3 separate regions of the Homo sapiens genome follow, and all the other regions are linked to region 2. Evidence: promoter capture Hi-C in 16 types of primary human blood cells and fetal thymus (Javierre and others, 2016). All regions are on one chromosome and are shown on one strand. Each heading gives the region's core, a stretch centred on a gene start or on the middle of the fragment in contact. The rest is flanking DNA. Distances are from core to core; before and after follow the strand shown. Region 1 holds the start of IFIT1 (interferon induced protein with tetratricopeptide repeats 1). Region 2 holds the start of STAMBPL1 (STAM binding protein like 1). Region 3 overlaps IFIT5 (interferon induced protein with tetratricopeptide repeats 5).

Evidence for each region. Contacts are between HindIII fragments. The CHiCAGO score rates a contact against its expected background, and 5 or more counts as called.
Region 1: a contact is called between the fragment with the promoter of IFIT1 here and the fragment with the promoter of STAMBPL1 in region 2, in 1 of 17 cell types (activated CD4 T cells). The highest score is 5.3, in activated CD4 T cells.
Region 3: a contact is called between a fragment that was not itself captured here and the fragment with the promoter of STAMBPL1 in region 2, in 1 of 17 cell types (non-activated CD4 T cells). The highest score is 5.1, in non-activated CD4 T cells.

Annotation. Positions count from the first base shown.
Region 1 is chr10:89,391,323-89,394,827 of GRCh38, forward strand. IFIT1 (interferon induced protein with tetratricopeptide repeats 1) reads left to right here and starts at 1,301. Exons shown (of 2, transcript NM_001548.5): 1 at 1,301-1,395. The coding sequence starts at 1,391. It also overlaps a transcript of LIPA not described here. RefSeq lists a silencer at 136-297 and enhancers at 850-899, 1,130-1,179, 1,981-2,030. The HindIII fragment of the contact is 1,915 bases long and covers 1-1,615 here.
Region 2 is chr10:88,878,953-88,882,537 of GRCh38, forward strand. STAMBPL1 (STAM binding protein like 1) reads left to right here and starts at 1,293. Exons shown (of 11, transcript NM_020799.4): 1 at 1,293-1,686. It overlaps LOC124902551, which reads right to left and starts at 1,712. Exons shown (of 1, transcript XM_047426134.1): 1 at 782-1,712. The coding sequence starts at 1,470. The coding sequence ends at 943. RefSeq lists a silencer at 1,182-1,311 and enhancers at 1,892-2,001, 3,022-3,585. The HindIII fragment of the contact is 2,730 bases long and covers 1-2,235 here.
Region 3 is chr10:89,417,479-89,421,027 of GRCh38, forward strand. IFIT5 (interferon induced protein with tetratricopeptide repeats 5) reads left to right here. Exons shown (of 2, transcript NM_012420.3): 2 at 1-3,519. The coding sequence ends at 1,170. Among named protein-coding and RNA genes, the nearest start is that of IFIT5, 4.7 kb to the left of the region's middle. The HindIII fragment of the contact is 1,777 bases long and covers 392-2,168 here.

The DNA of each region.
Region 1 (3,505 bases), core at 51-2,550, 510 kb after region 2:
CCCACCTCAGCCTCCTGAGTAGCTGAGACCACAGACACACACCACCACACCCAGCTTTTTTTTTCAGTTTTTTTGTAGAGTTGGGGTCTCCCTATGTTGTCCAGGCTGGTCTACAATTCCTGGGCTCAAGTGATCCTCCCGCCTTGCCTTCCAAAATACTGGGACTTACAGGCCTGAGCCAATGCACCCGGACAACAATTTTTTATTTTTTATTTATTTATTTTTTTAGACGGAGTCTCGCTCTGTCACCAGACTGGAGTACAGTGGTGTGATCTCGGCTCACTGCAACCTCTGCCTCCCAGGTTCAAGCAATTCCCCTGCCTCAGCCTCTCGAGTAGGTGGGACTACAGGTGCACACCACCACACCCAGCTAATTTTTTGTATTTTAGTAGAGAGGGGGTTTCACCATGTTGGCCACGATGGTCTCCATCTCCTGACCTTGTCATCCGCCCACCTTGGCCTCCCAAAGTGCTGGGACTACAGGCATGAGCCACCGCACCCAGCCAAGAATCATTATTTTTAACTTGATGACTGAAAATAATAATAATAATAGTTACCACTTATTTGCATGCTTCTATGTGCCAGGTAGTTGCTAACTATTTAAACTCAAATTCCATGAACTGTAGTGGAGGTTGTACTGGAATTTGATTCAGAATGACAGTGTCCATGATGGAGCAATAGAGGGCTCTCTATTTCAAACCATACCTCCTTGCTTTTACCTCCTGCCTAAGTCATCAGGGGTTAGAAGGCTTTCTAGGTATTGGTCTCTTTCCTTCATTCCTAAACCAGATTGGTTGCTTATTTCCGTCAAGCTGAAACCAAAAGTAAGCAACCAAAAAGCAACCAGCAACCAAAAGCCTTGTTACTCAATTAATTAAGAGTAGATTTTTATATTTGATAGTAGGTTCCTTCTAAATATAGAAACTGAAAATAGAGCTATCTCCTTCAATTCTCCTTTTTCTGTGTATTCATCCAGAATCCAGCCACCAACTGCCACAATAGGCAGCAATGGACTGATGTTCTTTAGGGAGGACGTGAATCTCGTTCCAAATGCTGGCCAGTCATTGGGTTTCTGCAGCACTAGAAACATCTATGGTTGCAGGTCTGCAGTTTATCTGTTTTAAAATAGAAACAAAGTTTCATTCCCCACCCCCCCCCGTCAGCAGGAATTCCGCTAGCTTTAGTTTCACTTTCCCCTTTCGGTTTCCCTAGGTTTCCAACTTGCAAGGACACACCCACAGCTTACACCATTGGCTGCTGTTTAGCTCCCTTATATAACACTGTCTTGGGGTTTAAACGTAACTGAAAATCCACAAGACAGAATAGCCAGATCTCAGAGGAGCCTGGCTAAGCAAAACCCTGCAGAACGGCTGCCTAATTTACAGCAACCATGAGGTAAGGATTTCTTTGCTCCTCTGCCATAATGTCTAAAGTTTTTGAAAAAATGGTAATTAAATACTATTTCAACAGGTTAGATCTCAGTGAGGTCAGGTTTTCTAATTCCTCGATTTGAGTATCTGCTTATGGACTGAATGTGTGCATGCATGTGTGTGCACGTTCACACATACATAAATTGTTTAATGCATTTTTATGTTTGTTAGCATGAACTTGAGGAAGCTTACCTCATGCTATAGCCCAAAGAAGGGGAGGGAAATGGGAAAAGAGTTTTGCAGGAAGGGAGAAAATGATCCCAATCTGAGAGATTCTTTCCCATCAGATTCACTTCTGTCTGATATGGGGAAGGAATGGACAGCTTGTCTGAGTAGAGGCATTGCTTTCTGCAGGTTCTTTACCACAGAGAAAAAGCAGGACCCACAAGAATGTGAAAGCCTCAGTCTTGCAGCCTCTCTGATGTCTTGTGGGTAATACAGTGGAGATGTGGTAGGAAAAGCTCACAGCCTTCCTCCATAGGCTTCTGGTCTCACTTTCTGCACTGCTGGCCTCTTACAACAGGTTTTCGCAATCAGGCTGAGCTTAAGATAAACAGATTGCCTCCTCCCTGGAAAATCTAGGCTCTTGGTACGTCCTTGACTGAAGATGATCCACATCTGCTTGGGAAGATCCGTATCTTCCTTACCTAAAGGGCCTAATGTGGGAATTTCTCAGCTGATTTAAAAACCATTACTTAGGCCGGGCAAGGGGGCTCATGCTTGTAATCCCAGCACTTTGGGAGGCCAAGGTGAGCAGATCGCCTGAGGTCAGGAGTTGGAGCCCATCCTGGCCAACATGGTGAAACCCCATCTCTACTAAAAATACAAAAATTTGGGCATGGTGGCACATGCCTGTAGTCCCAGCTACTTGGGAGGCTGAGGCAGGAGAATCACTTGAACCTGGGAGGCGTAAGTTGCAGTGAGCTGAGATTGTACCACTGCACTCCAGCCTGGGCAACAGAGCGAGACTCCGTCTCAAAAACAAACAAACAAACAAAAAATCCATTACTTAATACTGATTTGTAAATTTTCCCCTCAGTGCTCCAGTTGGCAAAATTTTGAAGAGGTAAAAATTCCAGAAAATGCACATTACAGGCCTATGATGAACCCTCCTCTGTAAACAGATGGAGTTGGTACTGATAATTAAAATAATAATAATATTAAATGTTATAAAGGTAGTTATCACTTCTTGAATTCGTATTAAGTGACAGCCTGGCTTCTAAAAGTGTTATGTAAATTATTCCATTTAATTCTCAAAAGATACTTATAAGGCAGGTACTTACACAGTCATGCATCGTGTAACAATGGGGATACACTCTGAGAAATGCAGCTGTTAGGCAATTTCATCATTATGCAAACATCAAACCTAGACGGTATAGCCTACTACACACCTAGGCTATAAACCTGTGCAGCATGTTACTGTACTGAATACTGTAGGCAACTGCAATACAATGGCAAGTATTTGTTTATCTAAACATATTTAAACATAGAGTACAGCAAAATTGTGGCATTAAAATCTTATAGGACCACCACCAAATATGTGGTCCTTTGTGGACTAAAATATCATTATGCAGTGCATGGCTGTATGATCCTGATTTTACAATAAGGAATCTTAGATTTAGAAATGTTAAGATCACACAGACAATAAGTGGTAGCTTTGAGATATGGATCAGGATCTCTACATTCAATGATATTTCATTAAACCTTTAAATCAATGTTTCCCAAAGGGTGTCAGTGGGGGCTCATGTGATTATTTCAGATGGCAAACTCATTTGCTTTTATGTTTTCCTGCTTTTATGTTTATGTCAATATGTACTACAGGAAAATATATATATATATATATATATATATATATATATATATATATATATATATAAAACTTGAATTTTATTCAGGTTAGCAATGTGATTTTTTATTGTGATAAAATACATGTAAAATAAAATTTATCATTTTAATTACTTTAAAGTATACAATTTAGTAGTATTTAGTATATTCATGATACTACTGTGCAATCATCATCACTATCTAGTTCAAGAACATTTTTCTCGCTATGTGGAGAAACTGCATAGCCATTA
Region 2 (3,585 bases), core at 43-2,542:
GTATGGGAGTGGTGGGGACTGTGGAAAACTGAAGAGTGTCTTCACAGTCTAAAGGCGACACCTGCTATTCAGCTTCAGCTGATGGTTGCTAGAACTCGCCATGGACCAAATGTCTGATGTTACGATTTTACAGAAAATGTGAAAAGTCTGAATTTCTGTGAAATTTCCTAACTTCAACATTTGGAACCAACTTAAAACTAAGCAAAACAACACTGTTGCTTCTTAAAAATCAAGGCTGCAGGCTGCCTCCAACAATCAAACTCTTCATTTAAAAAAAAAAAAAGAATCCAGGGAGATGAGGCTTAAGAAGGTGAAATGCTTGAGACCAAATAACTCAGTTGGTGGCTGAGCCAGGGCTAGAATTTTGGTTTCCAGAGGAAAGGCTAACTAAGAAAAGCCAGTGTTTCCCCACCCCACTCTGCAGCCATTTCTCTCACTTGGAAGTAAGCTCCCAACCAAGCTCAAGAAAAGCGACTCTATTTCATCCAGCAGCAGCAGTCTCCATAAAATGTTTATCAGTTAATAGAACCTGTGAAGCCAATAGAAACAGCTTTCAGTGTTGGATCAGAGTTTAAATTTCAGCTTCTACTGCTTTCTAGGTGAGTAACCTGGGATAAATTATTTTACTTCTCTGTCTCTCGTTCATGGAAAAAACAAAAACAAAAACAAAAAATGAGTCCCTTTTATATACAGGGTTGTGGCAGATGGACTAAGATTTTGTGTACCGACTGCCTGACACAGTGCCAGAACTGTAGTAAGAACACCACACGTGATAGTAACATAACATCCAGGAGATATTCTAATACTTCTTATTTTCCAAGTACACACAAATTGGGGGTAGGGGGAAGGGCTAAGATGCTTAATAGTGGGCGTAGCCAGTTGTGGATAAATATCAAAAAGGGAATCCTAACATGAAGTATAAGTGGGATTTTCACCAAAACCCTATCCTTCCCCAGACTCCAGTGACAGTTTAACGGTCAGCTGCATCAAGGCTTGTGTACTGTGCAGTCTTAAAAGGCACCACTCCTGTCCATCTCGGTGAAATTGATGGTGGAGCAAAAGGGAGTTTAGGTGGTTCCGGTCTGGGGAGAAGACGTGCAGGGTTTCAGATGCGAAAGTCGCACCCAACCGCTTCACTCGGGCTCTAGGCCATCCGCAGGGGCCCTGCTTCCTTCCACCTGCGAGCTTTTTCTGCAGAATGCGGGAAGCCGCCGCCGCCGCCACAGAGGAGGGGGCGGAGGCAGAGGCGGAGGCGGCACCCAGGGGCCGGGGCAGGGGAGGCCGGGACCATCGCAGTGACAATTTATTTTCCTGCAGCAGCGGCAGCAGGGACGGTTGCTGCAGGTTCGGGGTCGGCCGGCCTGCGCGTGGGCTTGCGAGGACGCTGTTCGTCCCCTGCGCTGGGGTGTCCGACAGCGAGGAGGAGAACGACGCACGGAGCCCGCGCGACTGGAACCAGCAAAGCTCCATCTGTCGGCAGAGGAGAAGGGGGAGGAGGCACGGCCGAGGCAAACGAGCGGACGCCTCGTCGCCGGGTGCCGGTATCACCCCGCTGCAACGCCTTCCAGCAAAAGCCACCGCGGCCCGGGTTGCAGCAGCCGGACGGATGCCAAGGCCACACGGCAGCCACGGGGGCAGCCGTCGCAGTCGCCGTCCCACACGGGCTGCGGACACCAAGGGTTGCTAGTGAGTAGCGGCGCGCGCGCGTGAGTGAGAGCGCGCACCGGACGGGGAAGTGCGCACGGCGGGTGCGTCTGCCTCGTGGCCTGGCGCGCGCCGGCCCTTCCGCTGGCAGCGTCCGGTCCCGGGCTGGCTCTAGGGGAGGAAAAAATGCACTTTGGCGGCTGATCGCTTCCTTCCTGCCAGTCATGCAATCGGCCGCCTCCATCGGCGCCGCCTGTATGCGCCCCTCCGCTGGGCCCTCTGGGTTAGTTTCACCTTGATAGGGAGGCAGGAAGACCTGGCTGCTGGTGGCAGGGCGGGACTCTGGCCGTGACCTATACGTGGGTGCGCCTGTTTTTTTGGTTCAGCCCTGGGTTGCAGCCTTGGAGATGATGTCGACCTTGGGAGAGACCACTGCACTGTCTCTAGCGGCGCGGTGTGGAGGAGGGAGGGGCGAGGGTTAGAAAAACGGACCTTTACCCCGGCCGAGCAGGTGCCATGCCTTTCCAGATGATGTTACTTTTATGCCCTTTATGAGCGACTAAGACATTGCCCCTCACCTGAATAACTTAAAGCTTTCGCTGAAAGCCCCCAGTGAGATGCACAAAGAAATGGAATGTCTCCAAAACATATTTTTTTCAGAACTTTCTCTAAAACAACCCACGCTGCTGATACCCCCAGAGCCTAAGGTGCCATAATTGCTGAAGTTTAAAAGAAAATTTATGTAAGGAATAAGTAATTCAGGAAACGGAACCCAATCTAGAGGTTTGAAAAAAAAAATCAAGTGCCTGGGAAGTGGGGTGGGGTGGCTTGCTTCCTGGAAATCAGTGTTCGGTAGTAAGTAAAAAAGACAGCTTTCAAAGTAAGCCCCAGTGAGCACACTGCTTTCCAAACATCTTGCTCATTACTGACAATAACATGAAGTCCTGGATTTTAAGCTATTTCCGAAGACATAATAGATATCACTAGGATGCTTGTTTATGGTCTCATGATTTAAGGCCCTGTCAAGGTCAATAACGTAGATTTGTTCCAGCAGATAAATTATACCTGAATGTTTGATTGTTCGTGTCAATTTTTTTGAGGGTAGGTTTTGACGGTTGTTTTACACAGAAATTAAGCCACCGTGTTTTGTTTTTATCCCGACCTTGTTTCCATTGGAAATTTTGTGTTTTCAGGATGGATGCTACATTGCACTTCAAAAATATACTCTGCCACTGGATTGTAGTGGGCATTGTGTAGCTACACTATACATATCTTTATTTTTAATACAAGTTAATGTGTCGCTGAGCAGTAGGCTCTTTTTGTTTACCATTTGCACCATGAGAGCTTCTCCATTCAAAGGCATAAAATGTTATTGGAATCTACCTGCAAAATGAATTGGCTGATTGTTTTCTGTTCAGACACAGATACAGCAAATTGCCACTAAGAATCTGCTTTTGCGTATACGTTGGCTGTAATTTATGTAGCAACTGGTTCTTGGGAATTTCAAGAAGAAACTTGTTTTCTTATCCTCACCTATAAAGTAAGCACCAAAATTTAAATTATAAGGCAGATAACCTAAGTCCTTTACCTCTATCTCAACCTTCAAGGCCTGTTTCTTGGTACTCTTGCCCTGTTTCATAGGATTCTTACGGTTTGTGGGAGGCTTGGAGGGAGTAGTGAGGAACCAGTTTCCTGAGGATGTCCTCAATAGAGAGATTTGCTTCTGGAGGAGAGAGTGTCTTTGGGGTTGATTCCTAAGAAGGACTGATAAAAATAGTTATAAAGAATTGTTAGTAATAGTTCTCTCTTCTTACTTTCAGCACATAGGACTTAATTAACACCGTTTGATCATTTCCTTCCTTTAGGACCCTTCCCAGCTGTAAGAATTTACAGCTACAATCCAAGAAATGAGATTGCATTTTACAAGAAAAGAAAACTGAT
Region 3 (3,549 bases), core at 30-2,529, 540 kb after region 2:
CTGGTCACTTGGGGAAACTATGCCTGGGTGTATTATCACATGGACCAGCTTGAAGAAGCTCAGAAGTATACAGGTAAGATAGGGAATGTCTGTAAGAAATTGTCCAGTCCTTCTAACTACAAGTTGGAGTGTCCTGAGACTGACTGTGAGAAAGGCTGGGCACTCTTGAAATTTGGAGGAAAGTATTATCAAAAGGCTAAAGCGGCTTTTGAGAAGGCTCTGGAAGTGGAGCCTGACAATCCAGAATTTAACATCGGCTATGCTATCACAGTGTATCGGCTGGATGATTCTGATAGAGAAGGGTCTGTAAAGAGCTTTTCTCTGGGGCCTTTGAGAAAGGCTGTTACCCTGAACCCAGATAACAGCTATATTAAGGTTTTTCTGGCACTGAAGCTTCAAGATGTACATGCAGAAGCTGAAGGGGAAAAGTATATTGAAGAAATCCTGGACCAAATATCATCCCAGCCTTACGTCCTTCGTTATGCAGCCAAGTTCTATAGGAGAAAAAATTCCTGGAACAAAGCTCTCGAACTTTTAAAAAAGGCCTTGGAGGTGACACCAACTTCTTCTTTCCTGCATCACCAGATGGGACTTTGCTACAGGGCACAAATGATCCAAATCAAGAAGGCCACACACAACAGACCTAAAGGAAAGGATAAACTAAAGGTTGATGAGCTGATTTCATCTGCTATATTTCATTTCAAAGCAGCCATGGAACGAGACTCTATGTTTGCATTTGCCTACACAGACCTGGCCAACATGTACGCTGAAGGAGGCCAGTATAGCAATGCTGAGGACATTTTCCGGAAAGCTCTTCGTCTGGAGAACATAACCGATGATCACAAACATCAGATCCATTACCACTATGGCCGCTTTCAGGAATTTCACCGTAAATCAGAAAATACTGCCATCCATCATTATTTAGAAGCCTTAAAGGTCAAAGACAGATCACCCCTTCGCACCAAACTGACAAGTGCTCTGAAGAAATTGTCTACCAAGAGACTTTGTCACAATGCTTTAGATGTGCAGAGTTTAAGTGCCCTAGGGTTTGTTTACAAGCTGGAAGGAGAAAAGAGGCAAGCTGCTGAGTACTATGAGAAGGCACAAAAGATAGATCCAGAAAATGCAGAATTCCTGACTGCTCTCTGTGAGCTCCGACTTTCCATTTAAATACATACTCTAGGAAATTAGCTCTAAGTTTTTCCCTTCATTTTGGGTTCTCCTGTTTGTTTTTTTTTTATTATTTTAATCCCTTGTTTATTATAGAGCTAATATTTATTGAATAGTTATTGTGTACCAAGCATTGTGCTAAATACTTTATATGCATTATGATGAATCTTGTGCGGTTTTCTTTCTTTTTTTCTTTTTAATTAAAATACTATAATCCATTGAGAAATAGCAATATTCTAGCTATTGTAACTTCTAAAAATGGTATGGCCATTAGATCTGTGCTTTTTATCTCTGCTCTTTGAATTTCTCATATTATATAGTAAATATATTCCTACGTAAACCTTTGATACCTAGATCAGGAATACTCTTCCAGGAGTACAAAATTACATTATTGATAGTTAAGCTCTTAATTGTGTAGCTTGCAAAAGACAGCACTTTTTAGTTACAGATGTTTTGACTTTGATGAGGATATTTAGCTATCAATCTAATAGTCACCTAAAATATCTTTTTTGTTGGAAAAAAGTTTATAATAAAAAAGTTTGTCATCTCTAGTGACTTCAATAAAGAAAAAACTAGAAGAGGAGAAAAAGGATTTCCTCAAATTTTAAATATGTAACTTCAGGGATTCAATCCCCAAATGTTTATTAAGTAGCTAGAAATAATTATGTGGAAAAAAATGAATAATGGAAAATAGTGAGTCTCAAATTGTTCTCTTTTTTTTTTTAACTAAAACAAATCTGCAATGAATCTAGATGCAATTAATTTTATTCCTTCCAACTAAAATTACAATATTTTTAGGTTAAAATTATTGAGATATAAAGCAGCCATTGGGAAATTGGGAGAAATGATAAACAAATGGAAAAAGAAGATGTCCCTAACCTACACCCATAGATTACCAAGGTTTCAGTGTACTAGTTTTGAATCTGTTCTGAATGGAGTTTTTATACCCTCAATTTCTGGCCTTTGGCTATTTTAGCATTTCAAAGTGACTTCTATGAAGCTTTTTTTTTAATGTGAAATTTTCAGAATGTTGTTTTTTTCATGTAGATACTCCAGGAAGAGTTAAGCACTGCTTTCAGTTTTAATATCCACCTTGAGGGGTCGCTGCTTGAGGGCTCTTATCCCAGGGGACTTTTTAATTCGGATGTTACTTAATGTGGCTTCTCTAATGTAGTTTCTTTGATTACCGACTACACAATTATGTACCATCACAGTATTAGTGGAAAAGTACCATGTGATTTAATTCTCCATTCCTCCAATGTAACTCTTAAAATTATTATGTATGTGTGTGTGTTTTACTTTTTGTTTTTTATCATCTTTAAAATTTCTATTATGGTTTGATTATTATAAAAATAATGAATTCTCACTGTAAATTTCAAAAAAAAATTACAAAAGTATGTGAATTTAAAAATGAGAGCAGTCCTCTCACCCTACCACAGTTCCACACCCTCAAGGTAAACTTATAACTTATAATTTGATATGTAAACTTCCAGATCTTTTTTCTATGCGTAATCAGACATACATATATACTGCAGTGTATCTCACGTATTAATTTTTAAAAATCTTTTGTTTTACTTAATTCTGTTTTTATTATTATTATTATTTTGTTTGATCTATTAAGGAAGAACAAGGAAGGGAATGATCTTTACTCAAGAATTTCAGAAAGTCAGCACTGAAGTCCTGACCTATCAGTAGACACATTTGTCCCTTTCAGATATTTTAGGATATTCTAGCAAAGCAGGCCATTTCTCCCACCTGAAAGTACATAACTTCTATCACTTGCCACATAATTAAAAGAACTCACATTAAGCGGTTACTCAGACAGTTAATCATAGAAAAGATTATTTGCTTCATCAGTTCATAGAAAAGATTATTTGCTTCATCAGTTAACTTGTTTTTATAAATCAGGGCTGTGTTCATACACAGAAGGGGCCTGAGATTTCTGCACTTTAAACAAGCTCCTCCTAGGTGAGGATGCTGTGGCTGTTCTAATTACATTTTGAGTAGTAAGGTCTACAGCATTGTTCCTCAAACTTGGCTACGTATTGGAATCACCTAAAAAGTTAAAACAAAACATGGATGTCTGGGTCCCGCCCCATAGAGAATGACTTAATTGGCATGGGGTGCAGTCCAGGCATCATGATTTTTAGATTTCCCAGTTGGAACTTGTGCAGCAAAGTTTGGGAGCTACTGATGGACATGTGAAAAGTAAGTATAAATGGAATAAAATTAATTAGGCTAATAGGCTTAACCCAGGAAATCCTAAGTTCCTTGAATATCCAGTTTGCATTTGGACTCCTCATCATATACTTGGTATATAATACTCTAATAAAAGCTGCCTGAGTTGAATTGTATATTGTCCTGCACCTACCTCTGAAA